4 separate regions of the Homo sapiens genome follow, and all the other regions are linked to region 3. The links are contacts of gene promoters, found by promoter capture Hi-C in blood cells and fetal thymus (Javierre and others, 2016). All regions are on one chromosome and are shown on one strand. Each heading gives the region's core, a stretch centred on a gene start or on the middle of the fragment in contact. The rest is flanking DNA. Distances are from core to core; before and after follow the strand shown.

Region 1 (2,700 bases), core at 1-2,500, 940 kb after region 3:
CTCAAGCGATTCTCCTGCCTCAGCCTCCCGAGTAGCTGGGATTACAGGCTTGCACTACCATGCCTGGCTAGTTTTGTACTTTTAGTAGAGACAGGGTTTCACCATGTTGGTCAGGCTGGTCTCGAACTCCTGACCTCAAATGATCCGTCCCCCTTGGCCTCCCAAAGTGCTGGGATTAAAGGTGTAAGCCACTGCACCCAGCTGTGCCTGGATTTTTAAATGCTACTGGGAAATTGCTATGGGCCTTAGAATATGACAGCAATGTTAAGTTTACCTTAGAGCATATATTCAGTATTTAATGTACTAGGGGATAAGAACATTATTGCAGATCCACATTTATTTGTGTGTGTATATGTACATATGTATATATATTCCCCTATGGGAGTATTTTAATAGTTAATATTGTCCTTCTGTTTGAAGTACTATTTTTATGTCTTTTTTTTTTTTTTTTTGAGATGGAGTTTCGCTTATCACCCAGGCTGGAGTGCAGTGGTGCAATTTCGGCTCTCTGCAACCTCCGCTTCCTGTGTTCAAGCAATCCTCCTGCCTCAGCCTCCCAAGTAGCTGGGACTACAGGTGCACACCACCATGCCCAGCTAATTTTTGTATTTTTAGTAAAGACAGGCTTTCACCATGTTGGCCAGGATGGTCTCAAACTCCTGACAGGTGATCCACCCACCTCGGCCTCCCAAAGTGCTGGGATTACAGGCGTAAGCCACCGCATCCAGCCTATTTTTATGTCTTTAATTGGGGAAAGTAAGTGCAAAGAGAAAAGCATAGGATGAGTATGGTTGGTCCCATGTAAAATTTTCCTTACCCCCTTGTAACCTTTGTTTAAAATAAAGAAATGAGTACTGTTAATTACAGTTCCTTGTCTTTAGAAGAAAGCTGTGGTCCTGTTTCTCTTCTATGACTACTTTTACATTGCTTTGTACACAAACGAAACTGAGTACCACATTGAGACATTGTCTATTTAGCAGTCTGAGTGAACCATTTTTCTTAGCCATGTAGGTCTTGGGGAAGCAGTAGGTGGTGGTCCATTCTGAATTTAGAGTGAGAATACATCGTAGGTTAAGGCCATTATGAAGCCAAGCTCAAGTCTGTGTGGAGCAGTAAGGCTTCAGGTTATTCTGTTCTCTTCATCAACATACTCTGAGAAGAAATGCAGGAATGGCAAGATGCATGTTTCCTAAAAATAGATTCATTTATATTTTTGATGCATGATACAAGTTTACATCTGTGGGAGAGTATTTGAATATTATGTTCATAAAATAGCAAGTGGAATAAGAGAAAAAGCACTCCACAAACTGCTGGAAAACTTTTTGTTTTGGATACCATGACAACAAAAATAATTATGATGGTAACTAACGCTTGAGTGCTTGTATGTGAGGCCCTGGGCTCAGCAGTTTGCTTTAAGCATCCTGTGCTAATCCTCAAGACACCCTGTGAAAGGTTAGAGGTAGCCTAATGAGAAAGTGGAATCTCAGTGAGGTTCCATGACTGGTCTGAGGCCACCTGGTTAGCAACTGGCAAAACCAGGATTCTAAACCCAGATCTACTAGGCTTCACAGCTGTGTAAAATCTTAACCACTGTGCACTTCCCCTAACCCCAGTTATGTATTGTCTTGGTATATATATTTTAAACGTTCTGTTTTAGATATGAACTTCTTTGTTTCTCAGTCATATAGTGAGAAATTCATAATTCTCCCAGAGGTTTTTCTGTGTGGAAAAGAGTAGATTTCCTAAGACAGTGCCATCTTTGACTTCTTAGACTGCAAATTTTTATTGTCCAGATTATCAGCAGTTGGAATTTTTTATTGGATATGTAGATATAAATAATATTTTTCAACCTATTTCTTGTTGGATTGATCAAAATGCCTGGATTTATAATAACTTTTTTGGTCTTATAGTTTGGGGTATAGCATTCACTTAATCAATTTCATGAAATGATTTTGCTTCCAAAATTGTAAATATAGCTGTGAAGATCTAAATTCAGACTTACATTTGTAGTAGAAGTCCTAATTGGTCAATTTTAATCTACTTTTTCATGTGTCATTATTTTTCTGTTTAGTGTCAGGTCTTTTACTTGAATTGATTATTTCTAAGCACCAAAGATGACTTTGAACTTATCATGTACTTATCTGTTGGCTTAAAGGTGTATACACATCTCAATGATTTTGATTTTTTTTTAATTTGTGAAATATACATTTCTATCCTTAAGAATGCTTATTTTCTTCAGAAAAATTAAAAAAAAATTTCTCTTACCCAATTTGTATAAACACATAGTTTAAGGTAGTCCTTCATTTTATAGCCAAATAGGGAAGAGGGTCAGTGGATACAGATTTTCTGTTAGCATATTACAGTTAGTAATAAAAATGTAACATTAAATGTACATTCAAATAATAGTTGCTAAAATATTAGCAGATATTGTGATTAGATAATAAAGATATCTTTTTTATTTTACTTCATTACTTGGTAAATAAAGGATTAGTTTTGACATTTCTAGACCAAACTTCATGTTTATTCCTTTTGGTGTTTGGTTGTATGAATACATAATTAGATTTGGGGGTAAAGCCCAGAAATTGGCCCGTTATCCATTTTTTAATGTTTGGCTGTCTTAACATGCCACTGGTACTAAAGATGATTCTTAAATTATTAAAGTACAACATGCTGAAATTGCTAAATTGATATTCTTTGCAA
Region 2 (2,700 bases), core at 81-2,580, 950 kb before region 3:
CTTATATTTACCACAGAAATCTAAACTCTTGATAACATAAGAACAAGAGGCCGTCTGATTTTCTAAAAGACTTTTTTTAGACATTAAAGACATTTTCAAAAGTCGTAAATATTCGCTCCGGAGGCGCAAGGCTTTCACCTGCCATTAATTCATCAGATAAGGCACAGCTCACAATGAGGCGCCACTCCCACCGGGACCACTTTGAGGAACACACAGCAAAACGCTCTGTTTGTTTTAAGAACAATCACTTTCTAAACCTTCCTGCGGGACTCTCAAAGGCAGCCCTTCCTTTGCCGCCAGAACCGCATCCCATCGCCCAGCACTTGCCGCAGGCCGGACAAGTGAGGCCCAAAAGGGCACCCAGCCCACGCCCCGCTTTAGAAAACACCGCGCGGCAAAGCTGCTTGGAAAATCGCTATCTTTTAGTCAACCTGAAGCCAGTTTGCCGCACTCGGGGAGAGCCGGGGAGAGGAGGGAGGGACGCGATCCGCCACCAACCAAATCAGGGCCTTTCCTGTTAACGACCACGCGGCAAGGGGGCCGGGCCCTCGCACGCCTCGACGGCCTCCCCCACTCCAAAGGGACTCCGATTTCGCAGGATCTCCCGCCTCCCGCCTCTGCTCCCAACACCCTACGTTTTTCTCTTCCTCCTCATTTACGTATTTACAATAAAACAGCGAAGCTGCACAGTCTGTCTCTAAATCAAACGCGGTTACCATCAAAGCCTCAGACTCTATGTCTCAACCGCAAAAGGTCTGACAGGAAATCAACTCGGGAGTTTGTCAATTCTTTAAACTCAAAGCTCTGTTAACGAAATCTGGATCCTTCCTCGCTCCCCACCTGCCTCCCCTGACAGGAGAATGACTGTAAAAGGATCCTGTCGTCCCCGAAAGTCAGCACCAAGCACTTCACAAATTGTCAAATCTCAAAAGCTTACACGCGCGGGCACTCCGGAAAGGCTGTGGGGACCACCCAAAGCACCCCCCTCCACACCGCGGCTGAAATTGGAGGCTGCGAAGTCAAGACTCGCTCTTCCCCGCAAAGCAAACCCTCTCTCCTCAGGAGAGCCCCGGCCCCTAAGCCAAATCGTGTATTCCCGTGACGGAAAGTTCAAGGTGAGGAAAAAGTACGACTGGACAGACCTATTTTAGTGACAGAGCCTGTCACGCCGGCCTCCGGAGGTCGCGGTAAAACTGCTCGCAGTAGTCCTGCCTCTCCGATGGGCGACAGCTGTGACCGTTAGGCCACTCGACGCTTCGGAAAGGTCCTGGCACCGGAAACCGGGCCTGGTCACGCGCACGCGAGACCAGTGATGCCCTGACCCCTGAGTGGATCAGAGAGCTCCCGCGACGCCGAATTCCCACACTCGCGGTTGGGGGGGGGGGGGGGGGGGGGGGGGGCGGGACTACCCGCTGACCAATCGGAGTCTGGCCACTGACAGGCGTCACCGTTGATCGGCCAATCCGCGGGTGCTCTCCCAGTCCTTGGGTGAGGGCGGGAATTTGCTAAGGAGATGGCTGTGGGGCGGGGCCGAGGGCGGGAATTTGCTGAGGAGATAGCTGTGGGGCGGGGCCGAGGGCGGGAATTTGCTGAGGAGATGGCTGTGGGGCGGGGCCTCTTACCTCAGGTTTTCCTTCGCAAGACCCGCAGGATTGAAAATGGACGTTAGGCCTTTCAGAGACTCGCGCGCTGAGTGGTTTCTGCGGCTGCGCAGGAGGCTGGCGCGCATGCGCAACCCTTCTAGTGGCGTTGTAGTTAGGGACGTGGTGTCCCCCCTTCGTTGTTGGGGTGTCCGAAGCTTTTTTTTTTTTTTAATGTGATCCCGCCCCTCCCCCGCGCTCTGTGACGCACCAGAGACGTCGTCGTAAACTGGGTTTCCTGGACGCACGCCAGTGATTGACTTGGAATGAGGAGAGGGGCGGGGCCTTAGCAGTTGCCCTGAGCCAGGTCTGGTAGGAAGGGCGAGGGGGGCCAGGGTGGGGGGCGGGCAAGATATTTCCAGTCTCCAGCACCCACAAGTTGGACTGGGGAACTAACGCAGACCTTGAAGGCAGATTTACTGGATTGGACCCCCAGCTCCAACACAGTCCTCCTATGGCCTTAGGCAAGCCAAGTAACCGCTTTGTGCTTCGGTTTCCCCATCTGTAAAATGGGTATAATATGGGGACTACATGAGTTAATGTATGCAAAGCACTTAGAACAGTACCTGGCATAGAATTTTGCTATTGTAATAAAGGCTATGTGACATCATCTAGTGGCATATAGTCTTACATACTTATATCGAGGCTGCTCATCTTGGGAAGGAGACACAGTCTGAGTAATTATCAGAAGCAAAGCAGGCAGATATTTCAAAGTAAAGCTATACATCTTTTCTTGGCCCAGAGAGGAGCTACAAAGAAAGTATACTGGACGTTGGAAATGTATCATTTTTCCTCTCAAATACGAAGCTAGATTAAAGCCCATTATAGATATAGTATATGTTTTTTTTTTGTTTTTGTTTTTGTTTGAGACGGAGTTTTGCTCTTGTTGCCCAGGCTGGAGTGTAGCGGTGTGATCTCGGCTCACTGCAACCTCTGCCTCCTGGGTTCAAGCGATTCTCCTGCCTCAGCCTCCAGAGTAGCTGGGATTACAGGCGTCTGCCACCATGCCCAGCTAATTTTTGTATTTTTAGTAGAGACGGGTTTCACCATGTTGGACAGG
Region 3 (2,700 bases), core at 187-2,686:
CTGCTCAGACGTAAACTGGACCTTTGTTCTCCCATTTGAAGTTTATGAATTGCATTAGAAAAATATTATTTCGTAATTTCATACAGGAGTTAAGAGTGTTCAAATACATAATTAAGTAATATTAAATAGCCCTCGGTGATCAAGCAAGATATCCAACAAGTCGAACGTTTCAGTATGTTCACCTGCAAGGAAAAAAAGAGATGGGGTTCCCACCTTCCCAGTCTCAGTCCCCGCAATTATCCATTCCAGGGCCCCGAAAACCCTGTACCCCGTTCGTTGTGCAATCTTTTTCAAACTCCACCCACTGAGCTCCAGAACAAGTGGAATTGTCCCGTTCTGAAAGAGGTCTCAATTTTCCTGTATCTAGGGAGGGACTGAAAACTCCTTGACGTGAGTCAAGTAAGGCAAGGGGAACAGTCCGGCCTGTTTCCCAGATTAAGAAAGACCCAAGGCCAGGGTCGGGAAGGCATTCAAGTTTCCACTCATCAAATTAAAAAAATAATAAATGAAAGAAAAAAAAGAGGGGAAAAAAGAGGAGGGTGGTAAATAGGACTGGGAGGACCAGCTATCATGCGATATCCCAACTCTGCAGGACCGAGGTCCTCCAGCATCGCCTCCCCATCCATCCCCGGCCCCACGTGCAGCCAAGCCCTCGGAGCCCCGGGGTCTAGGTCCCGGGGGCCGAGCGTCCCGCTCGCACCGGCCCTGCGACACTCACCCGCTCGCCTGCCCGCCCGCGCAGTGGCGGGGAGCGCAGGGGGGCGGGGGAAGGGGGGCCAAGCACACCCCGGCTCCCGCGCGGTTATCTTACTGCGCAACAGCCTAGCCTGAGCAGCCCGGGGGCACCCCGCAGCGCGCCCTGCGCACCTGCCCGACGCCAGGAGGGCGAGCCCACGACCCCAGCGAGCCCCCGGACGGCGGCGCTCAGCGCCGGGAGCACGGTGACGGCGGTGACTGGGAGAAGGAACGCCTGGCGCCCGGATCCCCGCGGTGCTGGCCGCACGTGGCTGTCACACCTGGCGCACCCCCGCCTCGCACCCCTTCTCCCTTAGAACCGCGTGCGCCCCCTGCCCTCCCTCCCGGCTTCCCCGCCGCGCGCCGCCAAACCCCAACCGTCGTCCCTTCCCACCCCATCCATCGCGGTCCCACCCCCCCCCACCTGCTCCCACTGTCGTCACCCCCGGGAGGGAAGAAGACCGGATGTTCGTCCCGTGGCTATAGGTAACCAGGGAGAGAGAAGAGGTGGACCCTGAAAAAGGGAGCCCAAACATCCCCCGGGCCCGACAACAACGAGGGCGTCCCCCTGACTGACCTTCTGCCGCGGGCTGCGTCGCCGTCCGCCCCGTCCGGCCTCAGTCGCCTCTTCGGCGCCGCCGCCTCTTCCCCGCGCTGCCTCCTCTACCCGCGTCGCCATGAGGTGACGGCAGCAGCCAAACAAGCGGCCCGACAAGGGGCACAGAATCTCGCAGGGCCTTTCGCCCCGCCCCCGAGCCCCCACGACCAATCGCCGCATGTGAGACTTCCCACGTGACCGGAGGAGGTTGGCCCCCGAGGGGACGGAGCGAGATGGGGATGGGGAGCATTGAATACTGGGCTGGGCTTCAGCAAGACCGAAGGGCAGATAGAGGCCGTGTGAGTCTGCGCGGATCGGGAATGGGACTCGGGAGTGGACTACAAGTCCCAGCAGGGCGTGCGGCCACAGCTCGCAGGCTCGGATCGGGATTGGGACATAAGGCGGCGTTCTGAAAAGGGGAGAGTGCTGCACCCAGTGTGCTTCGTGTGCATCCTAGTGGGACTTGCGGTTTCTGGGGGCGATGTCTGGCTATAGGAAGGTACTCGTTATGATCTTTCGCGGAAAGTTTAGAAATATCCCCGTGTTTGAGAAGGAGCACGATCGGCGACACATTCTTGTGTTTTTGTTTTTGTTGCCGTTCTTAGGAATTGGGCGCGAATGATTTGGGGATAAGGGAAAATACTTCACGACTTTCAAGACGGAAGGTGTATTGGCTCTTAGAATTTGAAGTTTCGTGCTCGGGCACCTGCCCCGAGCCCTGCCCCTCCACCAGAGTTGTTACCACGGTTTACTTGTCCCGAGCTCCCGCGGGATAGGTGCCGCATTCTATTCACCTTGGTTGAACCGCCCCGGCTTCTGCACACTTACTTGGCACTTCATTCATGTTGAATGTATCCTGCTTTCTCCCACCCCATTTACTCGTTTCATTACCTAAATTTTTTCAACAAACTCGGTTTGCTGAACCGAATTTTTTTTTTTATTGATATGATGTTGGGGGGGAGAGGGGAGATTTCCTCAGGAATATTCCCTATTTCCATCTGATGGAACCAGATCTCCAATGGCCGAGCTTCTGAAAGGCACAGACCATCATGAAATCCTGATATATTGTCTTAAATAATTCATTATGAGGCCGGGCGCGGTGGCTCACGCCTGTAATGCCAACACCTTGGGGGACCGAGGCGGGTGGATCACAAGGTCAGGAGTTCCAGACCAGCCTGGCCAACACAGTGAAACTCCGTCTCTACTAAAAATACAAAAATTAGCCGGGCATGGTGGTGGTGGTGGGCTTTTCTTTTTTCTTTGTTTTTGTTTTCCCAAGACGGAGTCTTGCTGTCACCCAAAGCTGGAGTGCAGTGGCACGATCTCAGCTCACTGCAACCTCCGCCTCCCAGGTTCAAGCAATTCTC
Region 4 (2,700 bases), core at 173-2,672, 920 kb after region 3:
TGGCACAGGTGTGCAAATTGAATGAAGTAATAAAGAAGGTGAAGCATTTTAAGCAGAAGGTTTAATCTCTATTGGATTTATGTTTTAGAAAAGCATGTGGCCATGTGCAGAAAGAACCATAATGGAATCAGGTGGAGAGAATGAGCTGAGATATAAAGTCCAGTTTGTTAGTCTGACCTAGTGCAATATTAATGGGGATGGAAAGAAGGAGAATACTCCAGAAAAACTGATACACTCAAGAAGTAATGAGACAGGGCCCAATTAAACCTTTTTTTTGGGGGGGGTGGGGAAGGAGTTTCATTCTTGTTGCACAGGCTGGAGTGCAGTGGTGCGGTCTCGGCTCACTGCAACCTCCAACTCCTGGGTTCAAGTGATTCCCCTGCCTCAGCCTCCTGTGTAGCTGAGATTACAAGCATGCAGCATCACGCCTAGCTAATTTTTTGTGTGTGTGTTTTTATAGTAGAGACAGGGTTTCACCATGTTGGCCAGGCTGGTCTCGAACTTCTGACCTCAGGTGATCCGCCTGCCTCGGCATCCCAAAGTGCTGGGATTATAGGCGTGAGCCATTGCCCTCAGCCTAAACCTTCTTTTGGCACCACAATTCAACTTAATTAACATTTTAGAGTACTTACTCTATGCAAAGCATTGCATTAGGTTATGCCATAAAGCAGTTATTAAGATATTATCCCAGTTTTGGAGATTGCAAGGATTTCAGTCAGCTAGTAAAGACATAAATACTTTAATACTGGACAGAAAGGCAAAAGGAAGTAGAATTGAAGAGTTTACATTTCAAGGGTAAGGTTTTTCAGTTTATTTATTTATTTGTTTGTTTTTGCCTAAAGATAATGGGCTAGTAGTTTCTGGGCAATAGACAGTGTCCTGTGGTGGCAAGAACATTGCCTGGAGACAGAACATAGGAGTCTTACTTCTCCACTTGCCACTAACTGGTATGATCTTGAACAATTTGCTTAACTTCTCTGGACTTCATTCTTCACTTGTAAAATAAAATTCTTGAATAAAATTACCTTTAAAATTCTATTATCTTATATATGTGTTATATTTAAAATGTGTACAGTATTTCTAAAATTTTTCATCAAATTATCTAATTAAAATGTTCCTGTATTCTAAATAGTGCTTTAGGATAAATATTTTAACTTAGCTTTTTGTATAGTATTTAGAAGACAAGGATATAATAGAGTCAAAAATAAATCTCAAGCTTTGGTTTTTTGATTCTAAGAGGTTGATGATAATACTGTATTCACTTTTGCCAATTAGGGACAGTTTACCCAAATGTGCTTGCCCACCACCCCACTTCACTTCCTCAGCCCTTTCAGCCTTACGATTTTTTAAATTTTGCCTTTTCTATTGCCTAGTATTAATGCTAGGCTTTGTCAGAGGAATGTAAAAAAGAGCCTTAAATCATTCTTTTTGCCCTCTTTGATAGACAAGTAGTTTAAAATTCTGTGCTCAGACTGTTTAACAATTCTTCTCAAATTTCAATGGAAGGGAGACATATAAAAGAGCACAAAAAGCAGGATTAGAATCAAGTATCCACTTGAAAATTCACTTGCTCTTCCCATCACTATGCATGGCTCCTTCTCTTTGTAACTAAGTATGCAACAAGCTTTCAAGAATGAACAGGAATGCTTGCAGCTGTAACAAATGAACCTGGGAAAAAAAATCAGTGGCTTAATACAAAGTTATTTCTCATTCATTTCAAGTACAATAGGAGTGATGATGGTGGTAGTGGTTTGTGTACGTCTCTTCCTTGCAGTCATTCAGGAACTCAGGCTGGCAGGATACCTGGGTGTCATCATCCAAGTGGCAAAAGCAGGTCTGGGGAGGGAAGGAGGGAAGAAGGAAACAGACTTTCCTGTGGGAGCTTTTTATAGGCTAGACCTGTCACTTTTATTCCTATTTCATTGGCCAGATCTCAGCTCCATGGGCACACCTAACTACAGAGGAAGCAGCGGAATGAGGTCTAGCTGTGTGCTAAGGAAGAGAACGGGCAGGTTTTGATTACTACTTAGCGGTCTCTGGTCTCTGCCTTACCCCTGGGACACATTGATTCTGTCTAGCTGTTCCCTCTGGACTTCTTCCTTTCTACCCCATGTCTTTAATTGCTGACAAAGTATTTCAGAGGTGACTCCTACTTGCCATGAGTAGTTGGGAAATATTTTTAAGGTAGTGATTTTCATCAAGTAAGCATCTGACTTTTATGATGCAACCTTCGAGTTTCCCTAAGCACTTCAGTTTCTGCCTTAGAATATTATAGCTGGGAAAACTGGCTAGCCATATGTAGAAAGCTGAAACTGGATCCCTTCCTCACACCTTATACAAAAATTAATTCAAGATGGACTAAAGACTTAAATGTTAGACCTAAACCCATAAAAACCTTAGAAGAAAACCTAGGCAATACCATTCAGGACATAGGCATGGGCAAGGACTTCATGTCTAAAACACCAAAAGCAATGGCAACAAAAGCCAAAATTGACAAATGGGATCTAATTAAACTAAAGAGCTTCTGCATAGCAAAAGAAACTACCATCAGAGTGAACAGGCAACCTACAGAATGGGAGAAAATTTTTGCAATTTACTCATCTGACAAAGGGCTAATATCCAGAATCTAGGAAGAACTCAAACAAATTTACAAGAAAAAAACAAACAACCCCATCAAAAAGTGGGCAAAGGATATGAACA

What was found. The method cuts DNA at HindIII sites, captures the fragments that hold promoters and counts their contacts. A CHiCAGO score of 5 or more calls a contact.
Region 1: a fragment that was not itself captured here is called in contact with the fragment with the promoter of TXLNG in region 3 in 2 of 17 cell types (activated CD4 T cells and naive CD8 T cells); the score reaches 7.3 in activated CD4 T cells.
Region 2: a contact is called between the fragment with the promoter of SCML1 here and the fragment with the promoter of TXLNG in region 3, in 1 of 17 cell types (total B cells). The highest score is 8.1, in total B cells.
Region 4: a contact is called between a fragment that was not itself captured here and the fragment with the promoter of TXLNG in region 3, in 1 of 17 cell types (naive CD8 T cells). The highest score is 6.8, in naive CD8 T cells.

The regions. Positions count from the first base shown.
Region 1 is chrX:15,840,777-15,843,476 of GRCh38, reverse strand. The region is part of intron 4 of AP1S2 (adaptor related protein complex 1 subunit sigma 2); the gene reads left to right. Among named protein-coding and RNA genes, the nearest start is that of AP1S2, 13 kb to the left of the region's middle. The HindIII fragment of the contact is 4,648 bases long and covers 1-2,700 here.
Region 2 is chrX:17,736,123-17,738,822 of GRCh38, reverse strand. SCML1 (Scm polycomb group protein like 1) reads right to left here and starts at 1,330. Exons shown (of 8, transcript NM_001037540.3): 1 at 1,143-1,330. The HindIII fragment of the contact is 866 bases long and covers 935-1,800 here.
Region 3 is chrX:16,785,202-16,787,901 of GRCh38, reverse strand. It overlaps TXLNG (taxilin gamma), which reads right to left and starts at 1,436. Exons shown (of 10, transcript NM_018360.3): 1 at 1,313-1,436. The coding sequence starts at 1,414. It overlaps LOC124905250 (a long non-coding RNA gene), which reads left to right and starts at 1,636. Exons shown (of 2, transcript XR_007068398.1): 1 at 1,636-1,832; 2 at 1,939-2,242. RefSeq lists a silencer at 651-1,090 and enhancers at 1,137-1,869, 1,841-2,040. The HindIII fragment of the contact is 8,203 bases long and covers 1-2,700 here.
Region 4 is chrX:15,860,612-15,863,311 of GRCh38, reverse strand. No RefSeq gene overlaps it. Among named protein-coding and RNA genes, the nearest start is that of AP1S2, 7.1 kb to the right of the region's middle. The HindIII fragment of the contact is 408 bases long and covers 1,219-1,626 here.